7 separate regions of the Homo sapiens genome follow, and regions 1, 2, 4, 5, 6 and 7 are each linked to region 3. The links are contacts of gene promoters, found by promoter capture Hi-C in blood cells and fetal thymus (Javierre and others, 2016). All regions are on one chromosome and are shown on one strand. The core of a region is centred on a gene start or on the middle of the fragment in contact, and the rest is flanking DNA. Distances in the headings are between cores, read along the strand shown.

Region 1 (4,118 bases), core at 721-3,220, 7.8 Mb after region 3:
GAAATGGTGGAGAGTGGGTTGCATAGGTAGCCAGACATTATATAACATCTCAAATAGAATAAACACTGGAGACACCTTGAAATGAAATTCACTGTGAGGGAAGGCAGACCGTCAGGAACGGAAGACAGACAGACACTGAAATGTAGTGGGATACCAGGTGAAAATAGGCCCTTGAGTGTTGGAACCTCACCATGACATACACTAGTAAGTGGCTGGAGCCCCACCATGACATACACTAGTAATGACTAATCAAGAGTAGCTGTTGGACTGAGGATCACATTGCTGGTTTGTAAGCAAATGCCTTGCTGCATTTTGGTAAGGAGAATATCCTATTTTTATGTGAACTTGCCCCTGTGAGTTTATTTATGTTGGAGCATTTTAATAGTTGGGAATAGTTTTGGCTGCAAGTAAGAGATAGATGTGTATTTGTTTTTCACTGCCTCTCGAAGTAGGCAATTCAAGGTTAACGTGGAACCCCCCAACCTTGTGTCTTGTTTTATTGTACCTTCCATTAAATTGCCTTACAGCCCAGGATAGCTGCTTGAGCTCCAACCTCCACACCCACATTCCTGTCACTGGGAGGAAGGGGCAGAAGGCATGTGCCAGAGTCTGTGAAGGGAAGTTTCTGGAAGCTGCCAAGCCACACTTCTAGTGTCATACCATAGCCAGAAAGTACTTACTCACATGGCCACACCTAACTGCAAACAAGGATGAGAAGTTTGTTCTGGATAGCCATGTACCTAGCTCAGAACTGAGGGTTTTACTTTTTTGGAAGAAGTCAGGAGTGGATGTTGGGAACCAGCTTGCAGTTGCTACCACAGGCCCAGAGCTCTGTTGAAAGGAAGGGCCTTGGCCGGGCATGGTGGCTCACGCCTATAATCCCAGCCCTTTGGGAGGCTGAGGCAGGTGGATTGCCTGAGGTCAGGAGTTTGAGACCAGCCTGGCCAACATGGTGAAACCCCATCTCTACTAAAAATACAAAAAAAATTAGTCGGGTGTGGTGGTGGGCATCTGTAATCCCAGCTTCTCAGGAGACTGAGGCAGGAGAATTGCTTGAATCTGTGAGGTGGAGGCTGCAGTGAGCCGAGATTACGCCATTGCACTCCAGCCTCGGTGACAAGAGCGAAACTCTGTCTCAAAAAAAAGAAGAAAGGAAGAGCCTTGGTTGGGCACAGTGGCTCACATCTGTAATCCCAGCACTTTGGGAGGCCAAGGTAGGTGCATCACCTGAGGTCAGGAGTTCGAGACCAGCCTGGCCAACATGGTGAAACCCCATCTCTACTAAAAATATAAAAATTAGCCAGGCATGGTGGTGGGTGCCTGTAATCCCAGCTACTTGGGAGGCTGAGGCAGAAGAATTGCTTGAACTCAGGAGGCAGAGGTTGCAGTGAGCCAAGATCAGGCCACTGTACTCCAGCCTGGGCGACAGAGAGACTCCATCTCCAAAAAAAAGAAAGAAGGGACTTCGTATAGTCTAGGATATGCCAAGTAGAGTAGGAAGAGACTCTGTCATCCTGAAATCCCCTCATTCCCTCCATAGGTAACCATGTCTGAGTCTGGACACAGTCAGCCTGGACTCTATGGGATAGAGCGGCGGCGACGGTGGAAGGAGCCTGGCTCTGGTGGCCCCCAGAATCTCTCTGGGCCTGGTGGTCGGGAGAGGGACTACATTGCACCATGGGAAAGAGAGAGAAGGGTGAGTGTCTGGACCCAGGAGCAGCATTCATGTATCTATTTGGTTCCACGCACCTGCCATGTGCCAGGCACTAATCCAGATGCCGGGGATATATTTGTAAACAAAACCTACCACCCTCATGGATAAAGAAGGTGGAGAGTGATAAAGGAGACTGTTCTAGATAACATGGTCAGAGAAGGTCTCTCTGAAGAGGTGACTTTTTAGCAGAGACTTGAAGGAGATGAGAGAATAAGCCATGCCAGCATCTGAGATGAAGAGCATTCCAGACAGAAAGAACAGCAAGCGCAGAGGCCCTGAGGTGGCCCATATCTGGCGTGTTCAAGGAGTAGCCATAGGAGGCCAGGATGGCTGCAATTGATGAGGAAGGAGGGAGAGAGATAGGAGATGAAGTCAAGTAACTGGGGCCAAATCATGTAGGACCTGGTAGGCCTTGGAAAGAACTTTGTATTTCACTGAGTGAAATTGGCATTGGAGAGTTTGAGCTGAGAGGTGCCATAGCTCATGTTTTAAAGGGTCATGTCATAATAACAACAACTGTTACTCTTTTTACTGAGCAGCCTATACTGTGCTTGCACTGTGCAAAGTCTTTTACATCCTTTGGGTCTTCCTGAACCCTTACAGCTACCCCATGAGGTAGATTCTATGATAGATCTGATTTTCACTAATGAGGAAAATGAGCCCCAGAGGTGAAGGGACTTTTCCAAAATCAGAGTCAATAAACTTTGGGTCCAGGACTCAGATCCAGGTCCAGCTTAGTCTCACATATAGCATCGCTCTGCCTGCTGTAGAGAGCGCCCTGGGCTGGGAATCAGGAGGGATCGGCTTGTGCCCAGGCCCAGCCTCGCTCCCCTCCTGTACCTAGGTGACTCACTGCCAGAACCTGCCCCCTGGGCTTTTTTCTCTAGGGCCCTGTCCACCTCAGAGATGTCAGGTAGGGTGGAAGTAGGTGACAACTGGGGCCAGCTTCTGAGCTATAAAACTGTACAAACATGAAGAATAGTTTTTTCACAGTGAGCTGGGCTCTTACTTGCTCCTTCTCTTGGGCCACAGTGTAAATGAGAACACGTAGTCTCTCTTCCTTCCACATAATGCCCTCCTGGGGAATGTTATCCCGCCACACCTTCAGGTTTAATCCTTGAACAAGCACCTCCTAAACCTCATCTTTGTCTCTAAATGTGCTACTGAGCCCTGGCAGCCTCTTGTCACACCCATGGGCTTCTTATCCTCTGTGTCCCGTGCTGACCTCGGCATCTTTCTGCCATTTTTCCTCTTCCCATTTTTTTCTCCCATATCAGTGACAGCCCATTGGGCCTTATCCTGAATGCCTCTCTCGCCTCTCCCCTGCTTCCTCTGTGCTAGTCAGGCACCAGTGCTTTACATTCTGCCGCCTGGTTATATCTGTGTGTCTTCTCTCTACCCTCACAGCGTTCATCCCAGGTATAGACTGAATATCCGAAGTGCTCCAAAATTCCAAATGTTTTGAGCACCAACGTGACATTTAAGGGAAATGTTTATTGGAGCCTTGCAAATGGATTTGGGGTGCTCAACCAGTAAATATGCAAATATTCCAAAGTTCAAAAAAATCCCAAATTCAGAACACTTCTGGTCCCAGGCATCTGAGATAAGAGATACTCAGCCTGTATCATCTCCCCCTTCCTAGCCTCCTGGAAGTCCACAGCCTCTCCTCCTGTAGTTTTTCCCTTGAAACTTCTTTTCGAAGCACTTTCACTTCGTCTTTTTGTTTGTTCTTCACCGTAAGCCAGTGAAGTGAGCAGGGTTTAAGTAAGTGTCCTCAGTATATTGGTGAAGGAACAGACACAGTTAGGGGTCAAGACTCTCATGAGGTTACTCAAGGAACCAGAGAAAGAACGGGACTCAGACTCAGATTTCTCCCCTCTTCAGCAGACTGAGGGTAAGTTGGGGAGGCATGAAGAGGTCAAGGCTTGGGATCAGCCTGCCAGCTTTGCCAGAGCAGGAGGGGGCTGAGGCAGAGGTGATCAGGATAGCAAGTGCCACCAGCAGCTCTCACATAGTGAGCACCTGCCATGTGTCAGGTGCCATGCTAGACACTTGATGAGTTCTCTCTCCTTTCATCCTCATCATAGTCTGTGAGGAAGGAATTCCCATACCCACTCACAGATGGGAAAATGAGGCATAAGTGAAGGTGGCGAGGGTGGTTCCTTATTCAAGTTCACACAGCCAACACGAGGCGGGATCAGGTTTGCACCCAGACCTGTCTAGCTCCTAGTTCCTTTCCTCCTGGGCTTGTTGCCTCGCAGAGGCAGCTGAGCAGAATGCTTGAGGATTTGGTTCTGCAGCCAGGCTGCCTGGGCTTTGTGACTTTGGGCAATCTGCTTAACCTTTCTAGGCTTCATTTTCTTCATCTGTAAAGTGGGGGTAATAATAGTATCTATCTCACAGG
Region 2 (3,682 bases), core at 1,142-3,641, 7.6 Mb after region 3:
TGAAATATATCAAACTCCAAATGAACATCTTTCTCCAAAATAACTTTCCTATTAAAAAAAAAACCACCATGTTTATAAAAGACAAAGACTGTGGAATCTTTCTAGACTAAAGAAACTGTGGAATGTGACAACTAAAGACAATGCATAAACTGGACTTTGAATGGCATTGCAGGTGAAGGGTGGGGTAGGGGACACAGTCATAAGGACTTTATTTTTTTATTTTTTGAGACAGAGTCTCGCTCTGTCACCCATGCTGGAGTGCAGTGGCGCGATCTCAGCTCACTGCAACCTCCGCCTGCTGGGTTCAGGTGATTCTCTTGCCTTAGCCTCCCAAGTAGCAGGGATTACAGGAGCATGCCACCACACCCGGCTTTTAAAAATATTTTTAGTAGAGACAAGGTGTCACCATGTTGGCCAGGCTGGTCTCGAACTCCTGACCTCAGGAGATCCACCCGCCGTTGCCTCCCAAAATGCTGGGATTACAGGCATGAGCCACTGTGCCTGGCATAGGACTTTAAATGAAAAACTGAACAAATTTAAATATGTAACTACAGATTAGATAACAGGATGTTAGGTAATATGCTATTCAACACTATCTAATGAGTAACACTACAACTACTAGTAGTCTTTTAACAGATCTGATATGTAATAGATAACAATATTATTTAATATCTAATATTATCTAGCATGTTATGTGAAACCCTATACCATCCCTTCTTAAATACCTCTTACCAACACACCCCACATTTACCATGGTATGTGGGCTTCCTTGCTGCAGAAAGCCATAATCAGCTGTCTCTGGTTAGTTATGTTCCTGGTGGTATTTGGCTGATGGTCATCAACAAAGCAACCAGGAAAAATGTAAACAATTGGCAAATTTGGATAGAGTATGAGAACTCCTTATACTATTTTTGCAACTTTTCTATAGCTTTTAAATGATATAAAGATGAAAATATTTTATTTTGTTTTTAGTTTTTAATTTTTTTTTTTTTGAGACAGAGTCTCGCTCCCTAGCCCAGGCTGGAGTGCAGTGGCGCGATCTCGCTCACTGCAAGCTCCGCCTCCCGGGCTCACGCCTTTCTCCTGCCTCAGCCTCTGGAGTAGCTGGGACCACAACTGCCTGCCACCATGCCCAGCTAATTTTTTGTATTTTTTTTTTTAGTAGAGATGGGGTTTCACCATGTTGGCCAGGATGGTCTCGATCTCCTGACCTCGTGATCCACCCGCCTCGGCCTCCCAAAGTGCTGGGATTACAGGCGTGAGCCACCGCGCCCAGCAAAAATATTTTAGATATCAGGAAATAGTCATAAGGATAATGGGAATAATAAAATTGAGCATTATATAATATGGCAGTTCACTAGTTTATTCTTTTTTTTTTTTTTTTTTTTGAGTCTCACTCTGTTGCCCAGGCTGGAGTGCAGTGGCGTGATCTTGGCTCACTGCAACCTCCACCTCCCGGGTTTAAGCAATTCTCCTGCCTCAGCCTCTAGAGTAGCTGGGACTACAGGCACGTGCCATCACGCCCGGCTAATATTTGTATTTTTGGTAGAGATGGGGTTTCACCATGTTGGCCAGGCTGGTCTCAAACTACTGACCTCAAGTGATCCACCTGCCTTGGCCTCCCAAAGTGCTGGGATTATAGGCATGAGCCACCACAACCAGCCTCACTAGTTTAGTCTCTATTAGCAATATTTAAAATTTTCTATAGTTAAAAGACATATGGGAAAACACATTAAAATATAACAATTTTTAAAAAAATGTTTATCAACAAATATAGAAGTAGACACAAAGAAAGACAAAAGAAATCAATTAGAAGCTTAACAGTTACTACCTTTACATCTTGGATACATGGGTAATTAAAAAACTTTTTCTACTCTCATTTCTCCTATTTCAGACTTTTCCACAATGATACAGTTCCACAACAGTACGAAATACTTGGAAAACATGAAACAAAATAGTTGAGAAATTTTTAAAAATTCCTAGACGTCCAAGCCCACGAGCCTTGCTCTCAACGTCCTTTCAATCAGGTCCTAACTTGCTTTCCCTACGAGTCCAGCTAGTTCCTCTGCCTCAATGAGAATGTATCCAAGAGGTGATCAACTCAGGCTCTGACCTGGACTGCCTAGGTGCCAACCCCAGCTCTACCTCTCACTAGTTGGCTGCTATGCACCCTGTGTCTCACTCTCATTTTTAAAACAAAGAAAAGCAATACTTCACAGAGCCACAGTGTGGCCTAAATTTATTTGTATAAAGCACTTAGAATGAAGTTACCAATTACGGCTTAATGATTATCAACACCCATTCCCGAGGACACACTCTCGGTTGGGTGAACATCTCTATAAAGGAAAAAAGCCAAGGACCAATCACATAGAGATTTGCCCTCAGTAGCCAAGAAGTCCCCTCCCTGCAGCTCTTTTAGAAAGGTCAGGCTGGGGAAGGCGAAAGTTGTGAAATACCCTGACTGCATCGCGGTCCCCCATAAAAGTTAAATGCTCCCCGCCCTTCGTGGAAGCGGACGCAACTCGCTTTCCTAAAAAGAGGTCAGAAGGCCTCCCGGGATCATCCAGCGTCCTGCAGGGATTAGGGAGAAGGACCAGGGCCCCTGCAGCTGAAGCTATGACTCCACCCGGGGACCTGACCTCTTCGGGAAGTTAACAAGAGACCACCAGTCACCAAGTGACAGGGACTGCTTTAAGGTTCTCATTTGCGTTATCTCTTTCAGTTCCCAAAAACGATTCTACTAGGATGGTTCTAATGTCCCCATTACCAAAAACAGCAATGGAAAGTATAAGGACATTGAGTAACACTCCACGTCACACTGCGAGAAAGCGGTCGCACAGGTAGGGTGGAGAGAGGCAGGCTGAGCGAGGTCAAAGTCCTGGAAACGCTCACAGCAGGGCACAGAGGACCCCGCCAATTCCAACCCCCGGGATGCGAGCACAGCACCCCCATCCCAGAAAGCTTCCGTGGACGGGAAAAAAACCCCATTCCCCGCCCCCACCAAACCTCCGCTCTCCGCCAAGGCTTCTTTTCCCTTGCTTGGATCATCGATCATCGGGTCGTTGCGACCCCAAGCGAAGGTGACAAGTTCAGAAGGACCCGCCAGACGCAGAAATGGCTCAAACTACGCGGTTATGTAGCAACCGCAGGCTCACACACCGGAAGTGCTCGCGTCTCCACAGAGCGTCTGGACTCCACTTCCCAGAATTCCCCGGTTCAACTGCTTGAGCCAAAGGGTCCGCCATTCCATGAAGTTGATGGACTACAGTTCCCAGAATTCACTCGTCCACCCGCCTGAGCCAACTTGCCCGCGACTCAGAGTGTGTCTGGACTCCGCTTCCTCCAATGCCAAAGGAAAATGTCTATAATCTCACTCTTCAGCGGGAAGCGTTGGACTCCGCGGTGGTCCTTGACTACACACACCGCAGTGCCCACCGGGAACGTATTCCATATCTCTGAGCGCCTGGTGGGGAATGTGGACTGTGACCCTGTGAGTCGTCCGTCTCTCTTCCTGAGTCTTTGAGCGAAAATAGTGTATAGACAGGAATTCCTGAAGTCTAAACGCCTCCCACGATGACAGGAGTGTTATTGGGAAGAGAACAAACGAGGAGATAAAATCTTCAAGGATTAGGATAATCTGACGATGGGAGGTTAAAACTAACGGTTTAAAGGATGAGCCAGG
Region 3 (3,828 bases), core at 423-2,922:
CTTCCCATTGGTTTTTCAACCCCTTGCATCTTTGGCCAGGCTGATCTCATTGCGCAAGACACTTCCCTAAACACTGTGGTAGACCTAACTCTTACCTTCAAGTCTCAGCTCAAACTTTCATTCATTCATTTAACAAATACCCACTGAGTGCCGCCTATGTACCCAGCATGCTCTAGGTACTGGGACACAGCAGTGAGCAAGATAGGAAAGGTTGCAGCTGTCAGGGCACTGATGTTCTAATGGAGGAACCAGGCCATGGATAAGGAAGTAAATGACTAAGATGCTTTCCAAATACGAGGGAATTATCTTTGGTGGTATGACTGGGGGGGGGGGAACAGGGAGGGGGTTCTTTAGGGTGGCTGGAGGCCTTTGAGCTGAGGCCAACAAAATGAGTAGACAGATATTGGGTCAGGGTGGGAAGAATGCTCCAAATTGAGTTAATAGCAAATGCAAAGGACATGAAGGGCAGGGCCTGGCTGTGTTCAGCCCATTGGAAAGTGTGTTGTGACTGAGGACGACCAGAAAGGACCAGAAGCTTAGAGGTTGGCAGGATAAGGAGCTTGGATTTTATTCTGAGATGGGAACCACTGGATGATTTTAAGCTGGGGGGCAGGGTAGTGACTGGTGACAGGATCTGATTTATATTTCCACAGGCTTCCTGGCACTGTGCCTGAATAGAGGGTGGAGTGTGGCAAGGGAAGAAACAGAACAGTGAGGAGGCCCCTGCAGTGATGCAGGTGAGGAGTAACGGTAGCTCGGAGCAGAATGGAGACAGTGGAAGTGGAGAGAAGTGGTTAGATTCTGGGCCTCTTCTGGAGATAGAGACGATGAGACTCACACAAGATTTGGTTGCGGGAGGGAAGCGGATGAGAGAAACAGAACACTGGCGACCATTCCAAGATTTTGGCTTGAGCACTTGGATGGACAGTTAGTGGGGAGGAGGCAGAAAGATTGTGAGAGGAGCAGGTTTAGGACAGGGAATCTGGGATTTCGTTTGGATGTGGTAGATTTGAGGTCCTTTGCTCTGTAAGGTCTTTCCTGAACCCTGGGCTGGGTCTAGCACCTCCTCTGTGTTCCCACAGCCTCCTGAGCACCCCCTGGGCCAGCCCTGACCACTCTGTGTTGTAACCAGGACAGAGGAGGGTGCACTCGCACTGCACCCAGGTTGAAGGGCGAGAGTGAGAAGGTGTCAGGCTGGGCCGCAGAATCCAAAGCGGGTCAGCAGGTACAACAGCTGCTTAGAGCACTCCCACCCGGAGAGAGGGATTGAGAGATCACGGAAAAGGGTGCCATCTTTCCAGGGACGCCTACCAGAACGCGGGGGAGAGAAATACAGAGACCCTCAACTCCGCCACGTCATCGCGACAAAGGGCCAGGACCGGCCGGCCGCGGGATGGGCGCTCACCTGGGCAGAACTGGAGCTGGAAGGGCCAACCTCCAAAGAAACGAGGAGCGGGCGGAAGGACTACGACTCCCGGAAGGCTTTGGGCCCATCCGCCTACGACTCCCAGGTGCCCCTGCGTTGCGTCGTCCCGAAACACTTGCGGCTCTCGGACAAACTGGGCCTACAGTTCCCAGAGATCCTCGCGGCAGCGCTGCGCATTCTGCGCACGCCTCCCAGAGTGTACTAGGCCGGTCCGGCCCGCTTCCCGTCTGCGCCTGCGCAAGCACAATAGCCGTGCCAGAATTCTCTGCCAGCTGCTGTGCACTGCTGTCAGTGCAAAGATGGGATGGACTTTTTTTTCAGATTTTCTGCTGTTGTGGGAGTATGGCAAGAGTTTGAGGGGGCGGAGAAAGAGATTGGGAATGTGAAAAGGGAAGATAGCACCTGCGCTAAGCACATTCCTAGGATTGGGCCGCGTCTCGGGGATGCAGAGTGGGCTCTTCGGCGCGCCCTGCAGCCATGGGAGTGGACGCCTGCCCAGGCCGAAGGGCAAGGACTTGCGGGGTGGGGTCTCTGTGCATGCGCGGAGCTGAAAGGGAGCGTTTTGCAGATCTCCACGCGTGCGCAACTCTCGGGACGTGGACGCGGTGAACAGTTACGCACAATCGTCTTTCTGACACAAACACACCCTGCCAGGTGGAAGCCAGGATGGAGGGCAGGTGAGACCCGTAAGGCAAGATCCCAAAACCAAGGAACGGAGCACTCTCCCCGCTTGCTCCCCAGATCCAAGCCCTCCACTTCCTTCCAATGCCCCCCTTCCCGAAACTGCTCCCTCCTGTATATTCTGAGATCTTATCACTATTCCCGTGAGGCCCTTGATAAGGAGGATTGAGAGTGAAGGGTGATGGGAGACACGCCTTGGGCGTCTTCTGTCCACCTCAAGGATTGAACTTTGGTAACTGGAACTCATTCATTTGTTAATCTGTGTGCTAGGCCCTTTGACCCGCTGGCCAGATGCACCGGGACACAGGTGTATTCAGCCTGGTCCAGAGATAAGGATGATAAATCTTAATGTAAAGGTATCAGATGTTAAGGGCTGCAGGAGCCCAGAGGTTACAAGTGCTGCAAGCCAGAACATGGGGAAACAACAGCAATTAAGCCGTTAGCTTGTGCCTTGGAGGGGTGTTTGCCCTGCACCCCACTCACTACCTGAAGATAAATGGCTTCTCCAACGTGTAGTGGGGTTGGGATGATGAGGATGACATCACTGCCAGGTGGGAGGCAGGAGCTGCAGGTCCTGACATGATGAGGCAGGTATGGGCCGCCCTGGGCTGAGGGGGACATGGGCTACCCTGGACTGGAGGGCTGGGCTGTGGCATGGGGACCCTGTCAGAGACAGGTGTTTGGCCTCCATGCCTTCCTGTGTCTCTGGAAGGGTGAAACTAAGCGGGATGCTCCTCTCCCAGCCCCACCTGCTTTTCAGAGGCTACCATATGCTGGAGGGGGAAGATCCTGGCCACAAGCAGAGGCCCTGGAGGTGAATCAGTGTTGGAAGTGGGGTGGTTGGTTCTGGGTCCTCCCTGAGGCTCACATGGCTGCCCCTCCCCATCCTCCAGGCCTCGCCTTCTGTCCCGGATCCGCCAATCCTCCGATCCCTGGATCCTCTGATGATGGCATCAACTGTCTGGGCTACAGGTTGCTCTCCAAAGAGTGGCTGCCCCTCTACACCAACCTCACTGTGGACATAACTTCCAAGCCTCAGGAGACCCAGTGCAAAGCTGAGGGGTATCTTATCTGGAAGCCAGAAAGAGCCCCTGAGGCCAAGGTCACAGGGAAGCCCTCCCACTCACCCCACCTGGTTTCTTTTAAAAGTAGAGTTTATTTTATCTCCTTTCTGCCATCCCTAATTCCTTCCTTCCATCTGTCCATCCATCTTCTTTCCCCTCCCTCCCTTCCTCCCTTCTCCTTCTCCTCCTCCCCACACCTGCTTCTTTTCTCTTTCTTTCAACTATGTCCAGAAGGTCCTTCTTAACAAACACTAATTAGTACAGGGAAAGGTCTCTTTAAGTGAATGCATTTAAAATAGGGAGTCCACCTTTGTGGTAAATAGTGTGCACGAGGTGAGTCTGGATCAGGACTTCACACTTGATAACGGAATTCAATTTCTCAAAATACCTTTATTTCAGATTTAATGAAATTCCATGTTTGTTGAATCATTAAGAACGAGCATTTGTGTTGTACTCATGGTGGACAGCCACCATTCTAATGCTTGACTTTACATAATTAACGCATGTAATCTGCAAAGGAGCCACAAGGCGAGATCTATTATTATTCCCATTGTGCTGCTGGAGAAATTAAGGCAGAGAGGTTAAGTTGCTTGCCACCAAACTAGCGAGGGGCAGAGCTGGGATGTGTAGCATCCAGGTAGGTTGGCTCCAGAGCCC
Region 4 (3,615 bases), core at 534-3,033, 7.2 Mb after region 3:
CAGCCTGGGCAACAGAGCGAGACTCAGTCTCAAAAAAAAAATAAAGGAAATAAATAAATAAATAAATAAATAAATAAATAAAGCAAATGCTATAGAGAGGAAAATGACAAATTTACCATTATAGGCTTTTTTTTCTTTCACTTTTTTCTTTTTTCTTTTTTTTTGGTGACAGAGTCTTGCTCTGTCGCCCAGGCTGGAGTGCAGTGGCATGATCTCGGCTCATTGCAACCTCCACCTCCTGGGTTCAAGTGATTCTCTTGCCTCAGCCTCCCAAGTAGCTGGGACTACACGTGCTTGCCACCATGCCTGGCTAAGTTTTGTATTTTTAGTAGCGATGGGGTTTCACCACCTTGGCCAGGCTGGTCTTGAACTCCTCACCGCGTGATCTGCCCACCTCGGCCTCCCAAAGTACTGAGATTACAGGCTTGAGCCACCACGCCCAGACTGGGAACCTTTTTGACATGCACTTTTCAATCGTTGACAGATGCATAATGAAAAAATCTAAGTAAGCACAAATAAGCATGTAGGAAATTTAAATAGCACAGTTAGCAAGTCTGGGGAAAATATAAATGTATGCATATCCATCTGATAGAGAAGACACATTGTTTTCCAACAGACACAGATGTCACAAAAATTAACCTTGTATTAGGTCAAAAATAAAAATGTTCCTGAACTCGTTTTTTAAAATTCAAGTATGTCAAATTAAATCAAGTAATCCTTCAACTTAGAGCAATATATAAGAACATCAAACATGTAAACATCAAAAGACAGAGATAAGCCAAAACAATTGCACTGTCCCTTTATGTGCCCTAAGCTGCGATGTCAAGCTATAGTTGGATATTATTCAACCATTTCCTGCCCATTGCGTAGAGGTGGGGGTCTTCACTTCTCTATCTAGTCTAGGACTGGAACCGCCTCACCACCCCTACAGCTTGAGGGTGCGTGGAAAAGGGAATGCCAGCCAGATATTCCAAACAGAGACTCTGCCAGCAGGACCAGGTGACCTTTCCTAGGAGACAGATTGTTCTCACACGTTATCAGGGCTTTCCTCCAGGCTAAAACTGTGGGCCTCTAATGGAATTCCTATTCAATTTTCTTACCCCATTTAGGGTACCCAAATTTTTCTTTAATAGAAATCTTAAATCTTAAATGCAATAACATGAAGTAAAATAAAGCCTAAGTCTCAACAAGGGCAAATTTTCAAAAAGAATCTGAAAACTTCCCGCGTTTTCTTGTTATGTTGTAATGTGTCTCTTTTAGGACACTCTCAGTACTCCTGCAATTCCCCTGTTAAGGATTCAGACAATAGTTGTTAATTCCTTCTGCTTCTTCTGAGACTAGGAAATAAATTACAGGGCTATGTTATATCGCAAGTGTAGATTATCCAGAGTTTTCATCAACAGAAATAAAACATGGTGGGGGGCGGGGAGGGAATTATTTAAGTGAGTGTTAATTGAAAAGTTTCGTGGTTTTAACGTTAAAAGACATGCCTATAAAATAAGAACTTATAAAAGTCTTCACTAAAACGGTAAAGTGCCCATTTCCAAGTAGTAAAATATTGAAACTTCTTTTCATCGTTGATAGTGATTTATTTAACATTTCATTATTTTATCGTTATTATGATTGTCGTTATTTTAGACGAATGCACGGAAGTCAAAGGACTTCCAAATGCACGGAAGTCAAAGGCCACCTTCACCAGGGTAGCCTTGCGAATGGCCACTGCTGCGCGCGGGGCTTTCTGGGGATTGTAGGCCATAGGCCTCCTTGCGCATGCGCCATGGTACTGGACGCACGCTGCGGGCGACATTGTTTGGGACGCTGGGGTGAGTCCCGTCTGTACCGCGCCCCTCTTGGAGGCGTAGCCAGGAGTAGGAGTGTAGGATGTGCAGCTGTGACCCGTCCCTGTGGACTGAAGTAGGAGGAGTGGAAGAGGGGACTGGTAACCAATGATAAGGCCTCGTAGGTGGGGTAGACTAGGGAAGTTCAGCGGCCCGACCTACCCGGGATAGGATGGGAAGAGCGTGGGCTCGAGCGTGGGCTCGGTTTGGGGAGCAGCCCTGGGTTTGACAAAACAGTGCATCTTCACGTTTCGTGACAGCGACTTGCGCTGTGCCTCCTCGGGTCGAAGCTTAGGGTCAGTCTTGGGATGTGCATCTCTGGATGAGGGCAGAGGGGCGCTGGCTCAGGGTTTTGGAGTAATGGCTGGACTGTGCGTCCCTGAATGGGATGAGGGATTTGCTTAAGCAGCTAGTCTCTGGATATAGAGGATGGCTTCGGCTGTTCTCGCTCAGTTTGGTGGGGGCGATTCTGGCTCAGCACCCCTAGGTTCTTGGATGGGGAGTTGTCTTGGGTCTGAACTCTGGATTTTGGCAGCTCTGACTCCATTGGGGCATTTATGACTTCAAGGCAGAGGTTCTGGCTTTTGGCAATAAAGAAACAACTCAGACTGTAATACTGTAATAACTCCAGAGTTTAATGTCACCGAATACATTTTGAAAAGAACTGTCCCAGGCCTGGCGCGGTGCCTCACGCCTGTAATCCCAGCACTTTGGGAGGCCAAAGTGGGCGGATCACGAGGTCAGGAGATCGAGACCATCCTGGCTAACACGGTGAAACCCCGTCTCTACTACAAAAAACAATTACAAAAAATTAGCCGGGCACGGTGGCAGGCGCCTGTAGTCCCAGCTACTCGGGAGGCTGAGGCAGGAGAATGGCGTGAACCCGGGAGGCGGAGCTTGCAGTGAGCTGAGATCACGCCACTGCACTCCAGCCTGGGCGACAGAGCCAGACTCTGTCTCAAAGAAAAAAGAAAAGAAAAGAACTGCCCCAAATTATTAACTCCATTCTCACCTCACATGCTGTGAGCCAGGGAGTAGGGACTTTGAGTATTATAAAGCACATTAGCAAATATAAGTTGTTAAATTACACTCAACAAATTTGAAGTTTGAACACTCTCTGTATATTTGATAAAGTTAGAGATTTAGTGTTAATTATTTTAGGTGTAATAGCAGCATTTATTACATTTCTGATCGTGTTTCTGGGCAATTGCAGTTCCAGATTCAGCTGCACTTTTCCTCTAGGTCTTCATTCCCTGAAGAAGTTGATATGGGCATCTGGTCTCATTCCTGATGCATTCCTCAGATCAGAGTAGTTGTCAGGGTGAGGGATGAGAAAGGCATTTGTGTGCGAGAGCTGTGTGGACTTTGGCAGATAGGGAAAAAACAAGAGTCTTGAGGTGCCATGTGTCCCATGCCTTTGGCTCCCCACCTTTTCCACCCTGCTGTCTGCCCTGAAAGGCCGCCATTGCCTTCTGGCCTTGCTTGTCTTTGGCCAATGGGAAGTCTCAACAGGAAAGTTTGGAGAGAGGAAGAAGTGTGAGTTGGAGTATCTTGTCCCCCAGTTCTCTCTCTGCAGGATTGTCACAGATTAGCTGCCCTTCTAAACAACAGGTCATAGTTTGGGTGGCCCTGGCCACACAGTCCTCTTAGTTCCAGGCTCCAGGGACTGCTCCCTCCCCTTACCTCTTAAGGCCCAGGTATTATAATGGCACCTCCCTGTCACTCCCCAGGATAGAGCCTTATCCATTGTGATTTCCTTACCCCGAGCCAACACCAT
Region 5 (3,659 bases), core at 1,160-3,659, 7.1 Mb after region 3:
AAAGAGACAACTGAAGCCTAGAGAGGTTAAGTAGCATGCCCAAAGTCACACTGCTGAAATTTGGACGCAGAAACTGGATGTTTTAGTTTAGAAATGATGCTGTTAATACCACAGACTGAGGTCAGGTGCAGTGGCTTACACCTATAATCCCAGCACTTTGGGAGGCTGAGGTGGGCGGATCACTTGAGGTCAGGAGGTCCAGACCAGCCTGGCCAACATGGTGAAACACCCCCTCTCTACCAAAGAATACAAAAAATCAGCCTGCATGGTGGCAGGTACTTGTAGTCCCAGCTACTAGGGGAGGCTGAGGTGGGAGGATCACTTGAACCTGGAGGTTGCAGTGAGCTGAGGTCACGCCACTCCACTCCAGTCTGGGTGACAGAGCAAGACCCTGTCTGAAAAAAAAAAAAAAAAAAGCAAAACCAAAAACCACAATCTGATACCTCCCAACGACTGGAAAACAAGTGCTCACAAAATGTCAGTAGAGAAAAAGCTGCAAGCTTGGGAACGGGCTGGGAGCAGGGATGAGGGTGTGTCAAGCCTGGGTCTTGATTCTGTCTCCTTGCCCAGGTCCCCAGTCCTCCTCCCTGTCCTCAGGGGCCATCGCTGGTATTGTCATCGGGATCCTGGCTGTCATTGCTGTGGCCTCAGAACTGGGCTATTTTCTCTGCATCAGAAATGCCAGACGGTAACACAGGGATACAGGGAGGGGGATGGGGATGGGGATGTGGCCAGCAGGGGGCGCTTGCCGGGCGTGTTGCTGACCATGGTGCTGAGTCTTGTCTGGCACCTGGGGAATTCAGAGGGTTGTGGGCATTGTTCAAGAATGGACATGGGATATGGGCAGAACCTGTGGAGATGGGCAAGGACTAGAGGCACAGAATAATGAGGGCTTTGGGGTTTCAGGCCCTCAAGGAAAACAACAGAGGACCCCAGTCATGAGACCTCACAACCCATCCCGAAGGAGGAGCACCCCACAGAGCCCAGTTCCGGTAAGTGACTCTATGGTGGCTGATGCCTGGGGCAGGGGTGAGGGCTGGGGAAGAGGCTGGTGCTGGGGGCTCCCAGCTTTGCCACCAGGTCACTGTATGATCAGGGCAAGCCCTGTCCACTCTGAGCCTCTGTGTTCCCATCTGGAATTTGGATGAGATTGGAGTCAAGCCCTCTGATGGGTTCTGCCTGTTCCAACAGTCCCGGCAAAAGCAGGACAACAGGCTGGAATTCTCTCCTTTCTCAATCTCAGAAGACTTTTTTAACTGATTGTTGTAGACAGAATGAATCAACCACAACACTCCTTCCTGCTGAATCCAAATCCAGCCTCATAACATATCTCAGTAGAGTGCCTCGAGTGCCCTCTACTGATGGGTTAGAGTTAACCAAAGACAAAATGAAACGTATTTGCCATCTCTGGGTCTGGGATTCTGGAAGGATAGGCCTTTTGATATGGAAGGCTTTCTAGAAACTGTCCAATCCAGCCCCATTTTATAGAGACGAAAACCAAGGCCATTAGGGATAAAGGGCTAAATCCAGGCTACAGAGGACCCAGTGTCAAAACTGGGCTAGAATTTAGATTTCTCCCCTCATCTGTGTCACCAAACAGCCTTACCTAACCCAGACCTTGATTGCCAGGACATTCCTGGTCAAGCTCACTGGAAATATGACAGGGAGTCCTGGGAAGGATTTCTGCACTTCCTTCCTGGGGTCAGGGGTCCTGGAAAAACAGCCCCTTGCCCCATATCTCTTTCGAACTCCAGCTCCTGACTGAGATTCACTTTTTCTAGAAAGCCTGAGTCCTGAGTATCGCAATATATCCCAGCTTCAGGGACGGATCAGAGTCGAACTGGTGAGTGATGCTGCAGAGGGAACCCTCCTTGATCCCCTGACCAGGCTGCTATAGTCTTACTTCTTAGGGTGGGGGCTGGCATGATCTTTTGAGAAAACCCAGTGCCAGGTTAAGTCTCTCTGCATCTCCTCCTCTGACTTCTCTGAGGATCTCAAGACCCTCCCGGGTTTTTTCATCTCTTCTCCTCGTCTTCTTATTCTTTGACATGACAATTCCTAGCTTTGAGCCCTCTGGGAATCAGAAGTGCTATAATTGCCTCTGAGGCCAAAGCTATTTCTGAGCATCTCTTGGGGTAGCCCCTATTCCAAGCCCTATGACCTCTCTGCAACTTTGTTTTTCCCCAGATGCAACCACCAGACCTTCCAGAGGAGACCTATGAGGTACATTGGCCCTGCTGGGTTTGGTTAAAGAATCTATGAAGGAAAGACAATCTGAAAATTTTATATGTGATAAGCCTGAGAGATCATCTTGTCTAAACATTTCATGGCACATCACAGGGCCAGGGATGGGAAGAGAGTAGCCTAAGGCCTCACAGAGAGCTGGGTCAGATGCCATGACCCTGGATCCTCTTTCGTTCCTTCCACCTCCAGGGCTTGGAATTGGATTGCCAATGAGGTGGTACTGGACCAGCACATGCTGGGGTGAAAAGGAGGCTGGGAGTAGAGGTTGCAGATCCAGCAGGAAAAAGGAGAGTTCTGGGCCAGGGCAAGGGCCTGGGTTCTAACCCTGCTTCCACCTCTGATTCTCTGCAAGAACCTGAACAGATTCCTTCCACTCTCTCGGTCCCTGAAGAGTGTAAGTTGGTACATTCCTGGCAATCTGTGTCTGTGGGCCCTGCCTAATTTCTCTGCTTACTTGCAGACGAAGCTGCCTTCAGCAAGCCGTAGAGGCAATTCTTTCAGCCCCTGGAAGCCACCACCCAAACCTCTGATGCCCCCACTCAGATTGGTCTCCACTGTGCCAAAAAACATGGAGTCAATCTATGAGGTATGTTTATGCCACACTGAGTCTTTGGACAGGTGGAAATCTGTCACCAATCTGCTTTTTCTTCCCTACTAAAGAGTCTGTAGGATGAACTATGAAGAAAAATTTCCCTTTAAAAATCTTCTCAATTCCATCCTATCCATTTCCATCATGTCATTTTCTAGTTGGTTTTACTTCATTCCTTTCCAACGCACTCCATTTTATTGCATTCCATGTTTCACTCCACCCAATTCCTTTCTATCCATTTAGCTTTATTCATTTTCTGTATTTCTATATCACTTCACTCTGCCATTTTCTTTCCATCCCATTGGGTTTTATTTCCTTCCACTCTATTTCCCCCCATCCCAGCTCTTCCCATTCACTCTACTGTATTCCATGCCTTTTATTTTCTTTCTTCTCTTTCTTTCTTCCTTCCTTCCTTTTTCTTTCTTTCTTTCTTTCTTTCTTTCTTTCTTTCTTTCTTTCTTTCTTTCTTTCTTTCTTTCCTTCCTTCCTTCCTTTCATCTTTCTTTTTTTTTTTGAGACAGGGTCTTGCTCCATCACCCAGACTGGAGTGCAGTGACTCAATCTCTGATGACTGCAACCTCTGCCTCCCAGGTTCAAGGGATTCTCCCACTTCAGCTTCCCGAGTAGCTAGGACTGCAGGCACGAGCCATCACACCCAGCTAATTTTTGTATTTTTTGGTAGAGACGGGATTTCACCATGTTGGCCAGGCTGGTCTTGAATTCCTGACCTCAATTGATCTGCCCGCCTTGGCCTCCCAAAGTGCTGAGATTACAGGAATGAGCCACCCTGCCTGGCTCATTCCATGCCTTTTCATTCCATTCCACT
Region 6 (3,653 bases), core at 856-3,355, 7.8 Mb after region 3:
TGGATCCAGAGCCTTAATTTTTTTGTTGTTGCTGTTTTTTCGAGATGGAGTCTCTCTCTGTCACCCAGGCTGGAGTGCAGTGGTGCAATCTTGGCTCACTGCAACCTCCACCGCCCGGGTTCACGCCATTCTCCTGCCTCAGCCTCCCGAGTAGCTGGGACTACAGGCGCCTACCACTACGCCCAGCTAATTTTTTGTATTTTTAGTGGAGACGGGGTTTCACCGTGTTAGCCAGGATGTTCTCGATCTCCTGACTTCATGATCCACCTCCCTCAGCCTCCCAAAGTGCTGGGATTACAGGCGTGAGCCACTGTGCCCGACCCCAGGGCCTTATTTTTAACTACAACATAGTACGGCTTCTTACATGCCACAGAAAGCTGGACTTCAAACAAGTCATGCTTGGAAATGTTACAGATTTCTATCTAAAGATTATCTGAAAGTCCCCACTCTTGTTGGTGCAAATTACAAATCCCTATGTTCAAAGCTCAATCATATTTCCACCCCTAAAAGCCTCACAAAGCAGACAACATTGTCATTTACTGCCAGAAACATTCCCTTACTTAAAATCCCTTATACCTTGCCTTTCTTTAAGCATCATGACTATGGGCCAGGCATGGTGGCTCACACCTGCAGTCCCAGCACTTTGGGACGCCAAGGCCAGAGGAACACCTGAGCCCAGGACTTCAAGGTTGCACTGAGCTATGACTATACTACTGCACTCAGCCTGGGCAACAGAGTGAGACCTTGTCTCTAAAAAAAGTTAAAAAAAAATTTTAATTATGACTACAGAAAAGATAAAAAATAATGTTTATATAACACCACCTAATTACTAATCTCTTCAAATAATCATAGTATAAAATAATGCTCTAATAGCAATCTACAAGAGGTGCCTTTCTATAACTCTTCAGTGCATCATAATGCACTGAAGTATTTGAACAATTTGCCATATGAACAGGTGGGTAAGAATTGTGGAGAAGAACAATAGGGGGCCACTGGGAGGAAATATGTACCAGCATGGCGGGTCATGTAACTGGGAAAACCCAGTCAAGATATTTCAGGCCAAGGAAAGAAAATGTTCTCATGACCTAGAAGCAAAGGTAATTGTATGTGTATGTATTTAAAAAGTATGTATAAAAAACCTCACCTGAACCTTGATTTCTAAACATGCAAAAATCCTTTTCTCCTCTTCAAACTCCTTCTTAGAAATCTGGCAACCTGGCAGCACTGGGGGAAAAAACAGTAACATGAGACATCAGCATTTCTAGCGCGTCACAGACTTAATTAAAAAAGAAAAAGAAGAGCAAAACACCCTCTGGGGCCACTTCTGCCTTCATCCACACAAAACCAAACGGAATGAAAAGGGAGGCTAGAGTCTGTCTCTGTGTTGAGGGCAATTCTTGGGGACAGAGGTCTGCTTGCAATGGCTCTGAAACATGTAGCTCACCACCAAAGAGCTCCTAGAGGCCCCTCTTCTAGGAATCCCACCTCTAGAACTTCCCCATCAGGTCTTGACAAGATCCTGTCCCGCGGACACTTCCAGATCTAAAATTCTCATCCTTCTTGCTTGAAACGTTCATTATGGGGCTTAGCATAGACTTCTTTCTTGCGGTCATTTAATTGTGGCAGGCCCGAAGACAGGCTAAAGGGAACCTAGAGCATTTGGTCAAAGCAAATCACATTTACAAATACGGCCACGCACCCTGTCAGCCCGTCACACATTCACAACTGCACCCACCTCCGTGGGGACACGCCCCGTCCCTGCCACGCCGTCTGAGACACACTGTCCCTCGGCTGCTCGCGTGCACACAGGCTTGAGGATCCGGACACGACACGCTCTGTCCGTGACCCAGCCCTCCCCACCTCCAGCACCCCCGATGCCACCCCCACCCTCACTGCCGGTTCCAGTCGGGCCCCAGTAAAGCCAGCCGAGCCCTCCCAGCTTCACCCGGGCTGATTACTTCTACAGACACGACCAACTCACCATGCAGAGTCCAAGAACCTTAAGGACACCGGAAAAGGACCCAGAGACCTGTGGTTAGTTTGGACCCAGAGGCTGATGGGAAACAAGAGCCTGGAAATGCTCGCAGGCTGGGAGAGGAGCTTCTGGCAGGCAAGCTCGCCCCGCCCCTAAAAGGCCTGTGCCCCGGAGACTTCTGGGAAATGTAGTCCACAGCGGCAGAGTCTCCGGAAGTTGAAACCTGGACAGCAGGGATGCTCCCAGCATGCAACTTGGCTTCACCTGTCAAAGGCGCTTTTTTCGAAGACGCCCGGGAGCTCTTGCTTTTGCTTGAGGGTCTTTGGTGTTGACTGAGAGCGAATTAAAAGGTTCTCAGCTTTCGCTAAGGAACGCATTCTGGAGTCTAGAACAGGCGAAGATGGGACTGGGGTGTCTGGGGACTTAGACGTGAGCGAGCAAGGGAATCCGGGGTAAGTTCGCTGGAAATGACCTGCGCGACACTACCAGTTTACCTGGGTATGAGCGCCTGGAACAGTGTCTGGCAATTGAACAGATGGGTGTGTCTTGCTGTGAGGGAGTTTCTTAGTTCGATTCGGTGTCTGGGACCCTGCGTGGACCTGTTTATGTTCATGGGATGTTTTCTAAATTTATGCCTGTGTGAGTCTGTTTTATTAGGTGTGAGATGAACTGTGTTACAGATTTTATATGCCGCTGTTGAAAGACAACAATAAGTGGTAGTGAGTGGATATTGTGACCGTGGAGACTTATGGCAGTGCAAAGGCGGCCATAAACAATGCACAAGCAATCCAGCATGGCTGTGTTCCAATAAAACTTGATGGATTATAAAATTTGAATCTCATTTTTTATAGAGTATGAAACCATTTATTCTGAAGCACACACTCATACTCCAAAAACAATACTATATATTCCCTCTCTCTCTCTCCTGTGTGTTTGCGTGTGTGTGTGTGTGGGTGTGTGAGAGAGAGAAAGGTTTTAAAGGAGACAACTAACTGATTCTGAGGTTAGGGCAAAAAGATTGGGGCTGTGGTTGGTGTGGTAAGAACCTTTGGATATAAATACTTTTTTAAAAAAGAATTGTCTAAAAATATTAAAGCGAAATTTTATATTAAAACTAACAGAAAGAAAAGGAAGTTACTTTTTAGGGGCTCTTTCTGGTCACTGATATCACCTCTCTCATCCTCTGCCATCTCTCACCTCCTGGTCTCTCTTGCTTATCAAGAGAAGACTAGAGCTCTTGGATCCCAGCTTTTCCCCTGCCTCAGCTGAGGCCACTACCCTGGTTGACTCCCATGGTGACATGGATGCCTCATCCAGTATCGTGGGTCTGAGTCCTCATCTGCAGGGTCCTTGAGCTTTCCTCGGCACCCATCCCCGTTTCCCATCTGGGACTTCATTATCATCAGCATCTGCTCCACCTCCAAAACCACTGGTGGAAGCAGCCTCCTCTCTTCCCATGTTACTTGCTCAATGACTCCCACAAGTACTACTCTGAATATTTTGGGGGTCTGATTTTTTTTTAATTTTTTATTTCCATAGGTTTTTGGGAAACAGGTGGTGTTTGGTTACATGAGTAACTTCTTCAGTGGTGATTTGTGAGATTTTGGTGCACCCATCACCTGAACAGTGTACATGGCACCCAATTTTTAGTCTTTTATCCCTCACCCCCTTTCCACCC
Region 7 (3,759 bases), core at 292-2,791, 7.1 Mb after region 3:
AAAACTGCTGCCAAGTAGGTGGTAGAATCTCACCCATCCACTGTCATTCTCAACATTCGAAGTTGTGCAGGTTGTTGGTGGCCCTATGTGGATGGTCTATTCTGTGTATTTCAGGACAGTGAGAATTATTCATGGATGATAAGGTGGGGCAGGAGAGGGAATTTTCTTGTGCGTGAGGACTAAAGGGATCCTCTTGTCAGGATGATTTCTGAGAAAATCAGGGAAGGGAACCTTCTTTCCAGTGCTGTAGTTTGTGAATATTGGTTTTACGCCTTCTAGATTTGGTGATTAAGAAACCTCAGGGCCTCCCACATGGGCCCTGTGGACGCCATATCCCTTGAGCTGAAATGTGAGCTCCACCTTCCAGCTCCCAGGGCAGGAAGAGATGGAAACACACCAAGAAGTCTGCCTGTGTGACGCCTGTGTTTTCTAAATGTTCTCACAGATATAGAGGGTTTCCTGCCAGTAGACCCCCAAAGCAAAGCTCTGAGAATTGAGTCCAGTAATATTTCTGTGATTTGATTAGAAACTTCATTTTATTGCCCCAAGAATACCTCAGATTGGGAAAGGAATATTTGGTCATCTCTATTTATAGGTGAGCAAATAGCCCTAGCCCTAGGTCTGATTTGACCACTGTCTTACTATGAAGCGGACAGGTCACTCCATGATAGCTCTGCTTGTCTCTTTCCCCCTGCTTTGGTTCCCATGGGGTCCCACATACATTACAGAAGGAACAATTATTATCTCCTGCCCACAACCCTTTTCTCTGTGCAAGTCAACAGTCTAATTCCTGTTCCCATTTCGTAAAGTCTGCAAAGAAAAAGGGAAATGCTCCTTTATGACCTAGAGAGGTGACTGTTGAACAAGAGGGTAATTTAAAGATGCTCCAGAGCATACAGAAAGTAGAGTAAAAGTTTTTAATTCTATTCCTATGTCCCAAACTCTGCACGTGTCTCTAGTCTTGTCAAATGCAGAGAACTTTTATTGTGCTCCTACTCAATACTGAGGAGAATACAAAGATAAAAAATACACAGTGCTTTCTAATATAGAACCCAGGACCCAGGGGAGAGGTATATAGAAATGGTAGTAATATGAAGAGAATAATTTTACTGGTATAGTAAAGGGCCACCAAAGCTAAGAAGTCCTGAGAGAAGAAGAGATGAAGCTTTCTGCTATCTGGGAACGCTTCATGGAGGAGGTGGCATTTGATCTGGGCCTTGGGTGATTAGACAGACTTTGGTAAGACAGTGGGAAGCAGAAGAGTTTGTGTCAGGCAATCAGTGGACTTAAATGAGCTTACTAAACCTTATTACCATTAATTTCTGCATTGGTGAAATAGAATAGACATATTACTCTTTTCTTCAAAAAAAAGTTTAGGCCAGGTAAAGTGGCTCACACCTGTAATCCCAGCACTTTGGGGGACCAGCATGGGAGGATCACTTGAGGCCAGGAGTTCAAGACCAGCCTGAGCAACATAGTGAAACTCCCACCTCTACAAAAAATAAAAACAAAAAAATTAGCCAGCTGTGGTGGCGTGCCTCTGTAGTCCCAGCTTCTTGGGAGGCTGAGACAGTAGGATAGCTTGAGCCCAGGAGTTCAAGACTATAGTAGGCTATGATGGTGCCACTGCACTCCAGCTTAGGCAACAAAATGAGACCCTAGCTCTTAAAAAAAAAGTTTAGATGATTTTGTGAGATGGAAATTCTGTGTTGAAGTACTCTATGTATTACTAAAAATACTAGGCAAATGATAGATTACATTGACATTATCTGAAGGAAACTGAGGGAGCTAAGATGTAAATTCAGGAGATATTCCTAAAATGGTCAGTAATCCAAAGTGAGTAGAACCTGGGGAAAAATTCAGGGTGTGTGGGTGTGCATGCATGCACGGGCTCACATGCATTTGTTGCAAGCTTGTTTCTGAGCATTTAGTTTGTAAGAGTAAGTTGGGAGCAGGTTCTGGATACTGACACTTTGAATTTTCTGCAAAGAAAAGGCACCCAACAAAGGTTTCCTCTAACCAAGGGAGGGGCTTGAGCTCAGCTTTGCTTTAGTGCCTCCAGGGACCCCAGGGACAAATGCAAAGTTACAGGTAGCACATTCCATGTCCCTTCTCCTAGTGGCTGTTTATAGTCAGCATACATTTATGAAGAGCCTGCTATGTGTCAGTAGTGATCTAAGCATGGTGGAGTCACGGTAAACAGGACAGACAAGATCTCAGCTCTTATGAAACTCACTCTAGTGGAAGAGTTAAATAAAAAGCCAAAGGTAGAAGAATATATGTGATGTGAAGATATGAAAGCAGGGTAAAGTGATAGAGTTGACTGCTGGGGTCAGGGCAAGGAAGGACATTTCATCCAGAGTCTACCTTGAGGAAAGATGAGCTTTCTTTTGTTTTCTTGTGAAAACTTTTAAACAAAAAGGTGCTAAAAACAGTTTGCATTCAAGAGGAGGTGCAACCATATTCTGCAAGTATAATAGTTTTAGCAGTTATGGCAGATAGTGACATTTTGGAATTTTGTTTCTGCCAAGTACCTGCTGAGAAAAACATTAAGTTGTCCAATTCTTGGTATTATTTCTTAACTGATATTAGCTTTTTTTTTTTAATTAACAGAGTGTGATATTATCTGAAGGAGTTTGTAATAACTTAAAATACAGGTTAGCATTTACAAATTTTCCTTTCTTGAGTAACTTTTCTCATTTCCCAGGCATTTTTTTAAGAAAAGATGTATTTGTCACGGGTGTATATCAGGAATGTAATTTTTCTTTCAGGCCAGATAAGATTGAATCCATTAACAGTTTGGGGTCAAAACTTGTGGCTCCCTTGTACCATCTGTAGTTTGGTTGTGGCTATTTTTTGGCATTGTGAGTTTTATTTTTGTTTTCTGGCATTTTGGGCTATTTTGTAATGTTCATGCAGCAATTTCAAGGCAGTTTAGGCCAGTTGTGGTGACTCACGCCTGTAATCCCACTTTGGGAGGCTGAGGCAAGAGGACTGCTTAAGAACAGTAGTTTTTTTTGTATTGTCTTTTCTCTTTGTTTTCTCTTTTTCCTTCCATCCTCCCTCCCTCCCTCCCTCCCTCCCTCCCTTCTCCTATTTCCTTTTTCCCTTTCTTTCCCTTCCCTTCCCTTCCCTCTTTCTTTCCCTTCCTTTCGCTCTTTCCCTTCCCTTCCCTCTTTCTTTCCCTTCCTTTCCCTCTTTCCCTTCCCTTCCCTCTTTCTTTCCTGTCTTTTTCTTTCTTTTCTTTTCTTTCTTTCTTGCTTTTTCTTTCTTTCTTTCTTTCTTTTCTTTCTTTCTTTTCCCTCTTTCTTTCCTGTCTTTCTCTCTCTCTTTCTTTCTTTTTCTTTTCTCTCTTTCTTTCTCTCTCTCTCTCTTTCTCTCTCTTTCTTTCTTGTTCTTCTCTTCTCATCTCTTCTCTTCTTTTCTTTCTTTTCTTTCGGTCAAGTTTATTTATTTATTTATTTATTTTTTCCCATTTCTAAATTTTTCTTTTTTTTTTCTTTTTTTCTTTTTTTTTTATTGATCATTCTTGGGTGTTTCTCGCAGAGGGGGATTTGGCAGGGTCATAGGACAATAGTGGAGGGAAGGTCAGCAGATAAACAAGTGAACAAAGGTCTCTGGTTTTCCTAGGCAGAGGACCCTGCGGCCTTCCACAGCGTTTGTGTCCCTGGGTACTTGAGATTAGGGAGTGGTGACGACTCTTAACGAGCATGCTGCCTTCAAGCATCTGTTTAACAAAGCACATCTTGCACCGCCCTT

Evidence for each region. The method cuts DNA at HindIII sites, captures the fragments that hold promoters and counts their contacts. A CHiCAGO score of 5 or more calls a contact.
Region 1: a contact is called between a fragment that was not itself captured here and the fragment with the promoter of LINC01530 in region 3, in 1 of 17 cell types (fetal thymus). The highest score is 5.9, in fetal thymus.
Region 2: a contact is called between a fragment that was not itself captured here and the fragment with the promoter of LINC01530 in region 3, in 4 of 17 cell types (total CD4 T cells, non-activated CD4 T cells, total CD8 T cells and 1 more). The highest score is 11.8, in total CD4 T cells.
Region 4: a contact is called between the fragment with the promoter of ZNF285 here and the fragment with the promoter of LINC01530 in region 3, in 1 of 17 cell types (naive CD4 T cells). The highest score is 5.4, in naive CD4 T cells.
Region 5: a fragment that was not itself captured here is called in contact with the fragment with the promoter of LINC01530 in region 3 in 1 of 17 cell types (total CD4 T cells); the score reaches 11.5 in total CD4 T cells.
Region 6: the fragment with the promoter of ZNF283 here is called in contact with the fragment with the promoter of LINC01530 in region 3 in 5 of 17 cell types (non-activated CD4 T cells, total CD4 T cells, total CD8 T cells and 2 more); the score reaches 13.4 in non-activated CD4 T cells.
Region 7: a contact is called between a fragment that was not itself captured here and the fragment with the promoter of LINC01530 in region 3, in 1 of 17 cell types (activated CD4 T cells). The highest score is 10.2, in activated CD4 T cells.

Annotation. Positions count from the first base shown.
Region 1 is chr19:43,748,170-43,752,287 of GRCh38, reverse strand. It overlaps SMG9 (SMG9 nonsense mediated mRNA decay factor), which reads left to right. Exons shown (of 14, transcript NM_019108.4): 2 at 1,541-1,696. The coding sequence starts at 1,547. Among named protein-coding and RNA genes, the nearest start is that of SMG9, 4.7 kb to the left of the region's middle. The HindIII fragment of the contact is 8,040 bases long and covers 1-4,118 here.
Region 2 is chr19:44,002,432-44,006,113 of GRCh38, reverse strand. It overlaps ZNF230 (zinc finger protein 230), which reads right to left and starts at 3,157. Exons shown (of 5, transcript NM_006300.4): 1 at 3,007-3,157. ZNF230-DT (ZNF230 divergent transcript) reads left to right here and starts at 3,244. Exons shown (of 3, transcript NR_110727.1): 1 at 3,244-3,682. RefSeq lists an enhancer at 2,885-3,394. The HindIII fragment of the contact is 1,145 bases long and covers 1,819-2,963 here.
Region 3 is chr19:51,592,224-51,596,051 of GRCh38, reverse strand. It overlaps LINC01530 (long intergenic non-protein coding RNA 1530), which reads left to right and starts at 1,672. Exons shown (of 2, transcript NR_034159.1): 1 at 1,672-2,103; 2 at 3,001-3,828. ZNF175 (zinc finger protein 175) reads right to left here. Exons shown (of 5, transcript NM_007147.4): 5 at 3,542-3,828. RefSeq lists a silencer at 755-922 and enhancers at 1,005-1,054, 1,265-1,574, 1,321-1,956, 1,957-2,592, 2,593-3,228. The HindIII fragment of the contact is 8,842 bases long and covers 538-3,828 here.
Region 4 is chr19:44,399,776-44,403,390 of GRCh38, reverse strand. It overlaps ZNF285 (zinc finger protein 285), which reads left to right and starts at 1,783. Exons shown (of 4, transcript NM_152354.6): 1 at 1,783-1,823. RefSeq lists an enhancer at 1,630-2,386. The HindIII fragment of the contact is 3,728 bases long and covers 1-2,130 here.
Region 5 is chr19:44,510,201-44,513,859 of GRCh38, reverse strand. CEACAM20 (CEA cell adhesion molecule 20) reads left to right here. Exons shown (of 12, transcript NM_001102597.3): 7 at 571-688; 8 at 907-992; 9 at 1,782-1,843; 10 at 2,188-2,223; 11 at 2,705-2,830. Among named protein-coding and RNA genes, the nearest start is that of ZNF180, 12 kb to the right of the region's middle. The HindIII fragment of the contact is 3,813 bases long and covers 503-3,659 here.
Region 6 is chr19:43,825,773-43,829,425 of GRCh38, reverse strand. ZNF283 (zinc finger protein 283) reads right to left here and starts at 2,105. Exons shown (of 7, transcript NM_181845.2): 1 at 1,982-2,105; 2 at 1,145-1,224. RefSeq lists an enhancer at 2,048-2,247. The HindIII fragment of the contact is 6,325 bases long and covers 1-3,653 here.
Region 7 is chr19:44,489,495-44,493,253 of GRCh38, reverse strand. All of the region lies in intron 2 of ZNF180 (zinc finger protein 180), which reads left to right. Among named protein-coding and RNA genes, the nearest start is that of ZNF180, 9.1 kb to the left of the region's middle. The HindIII fragment of the contact is 747 bases long and covers 1,168-1,914 here.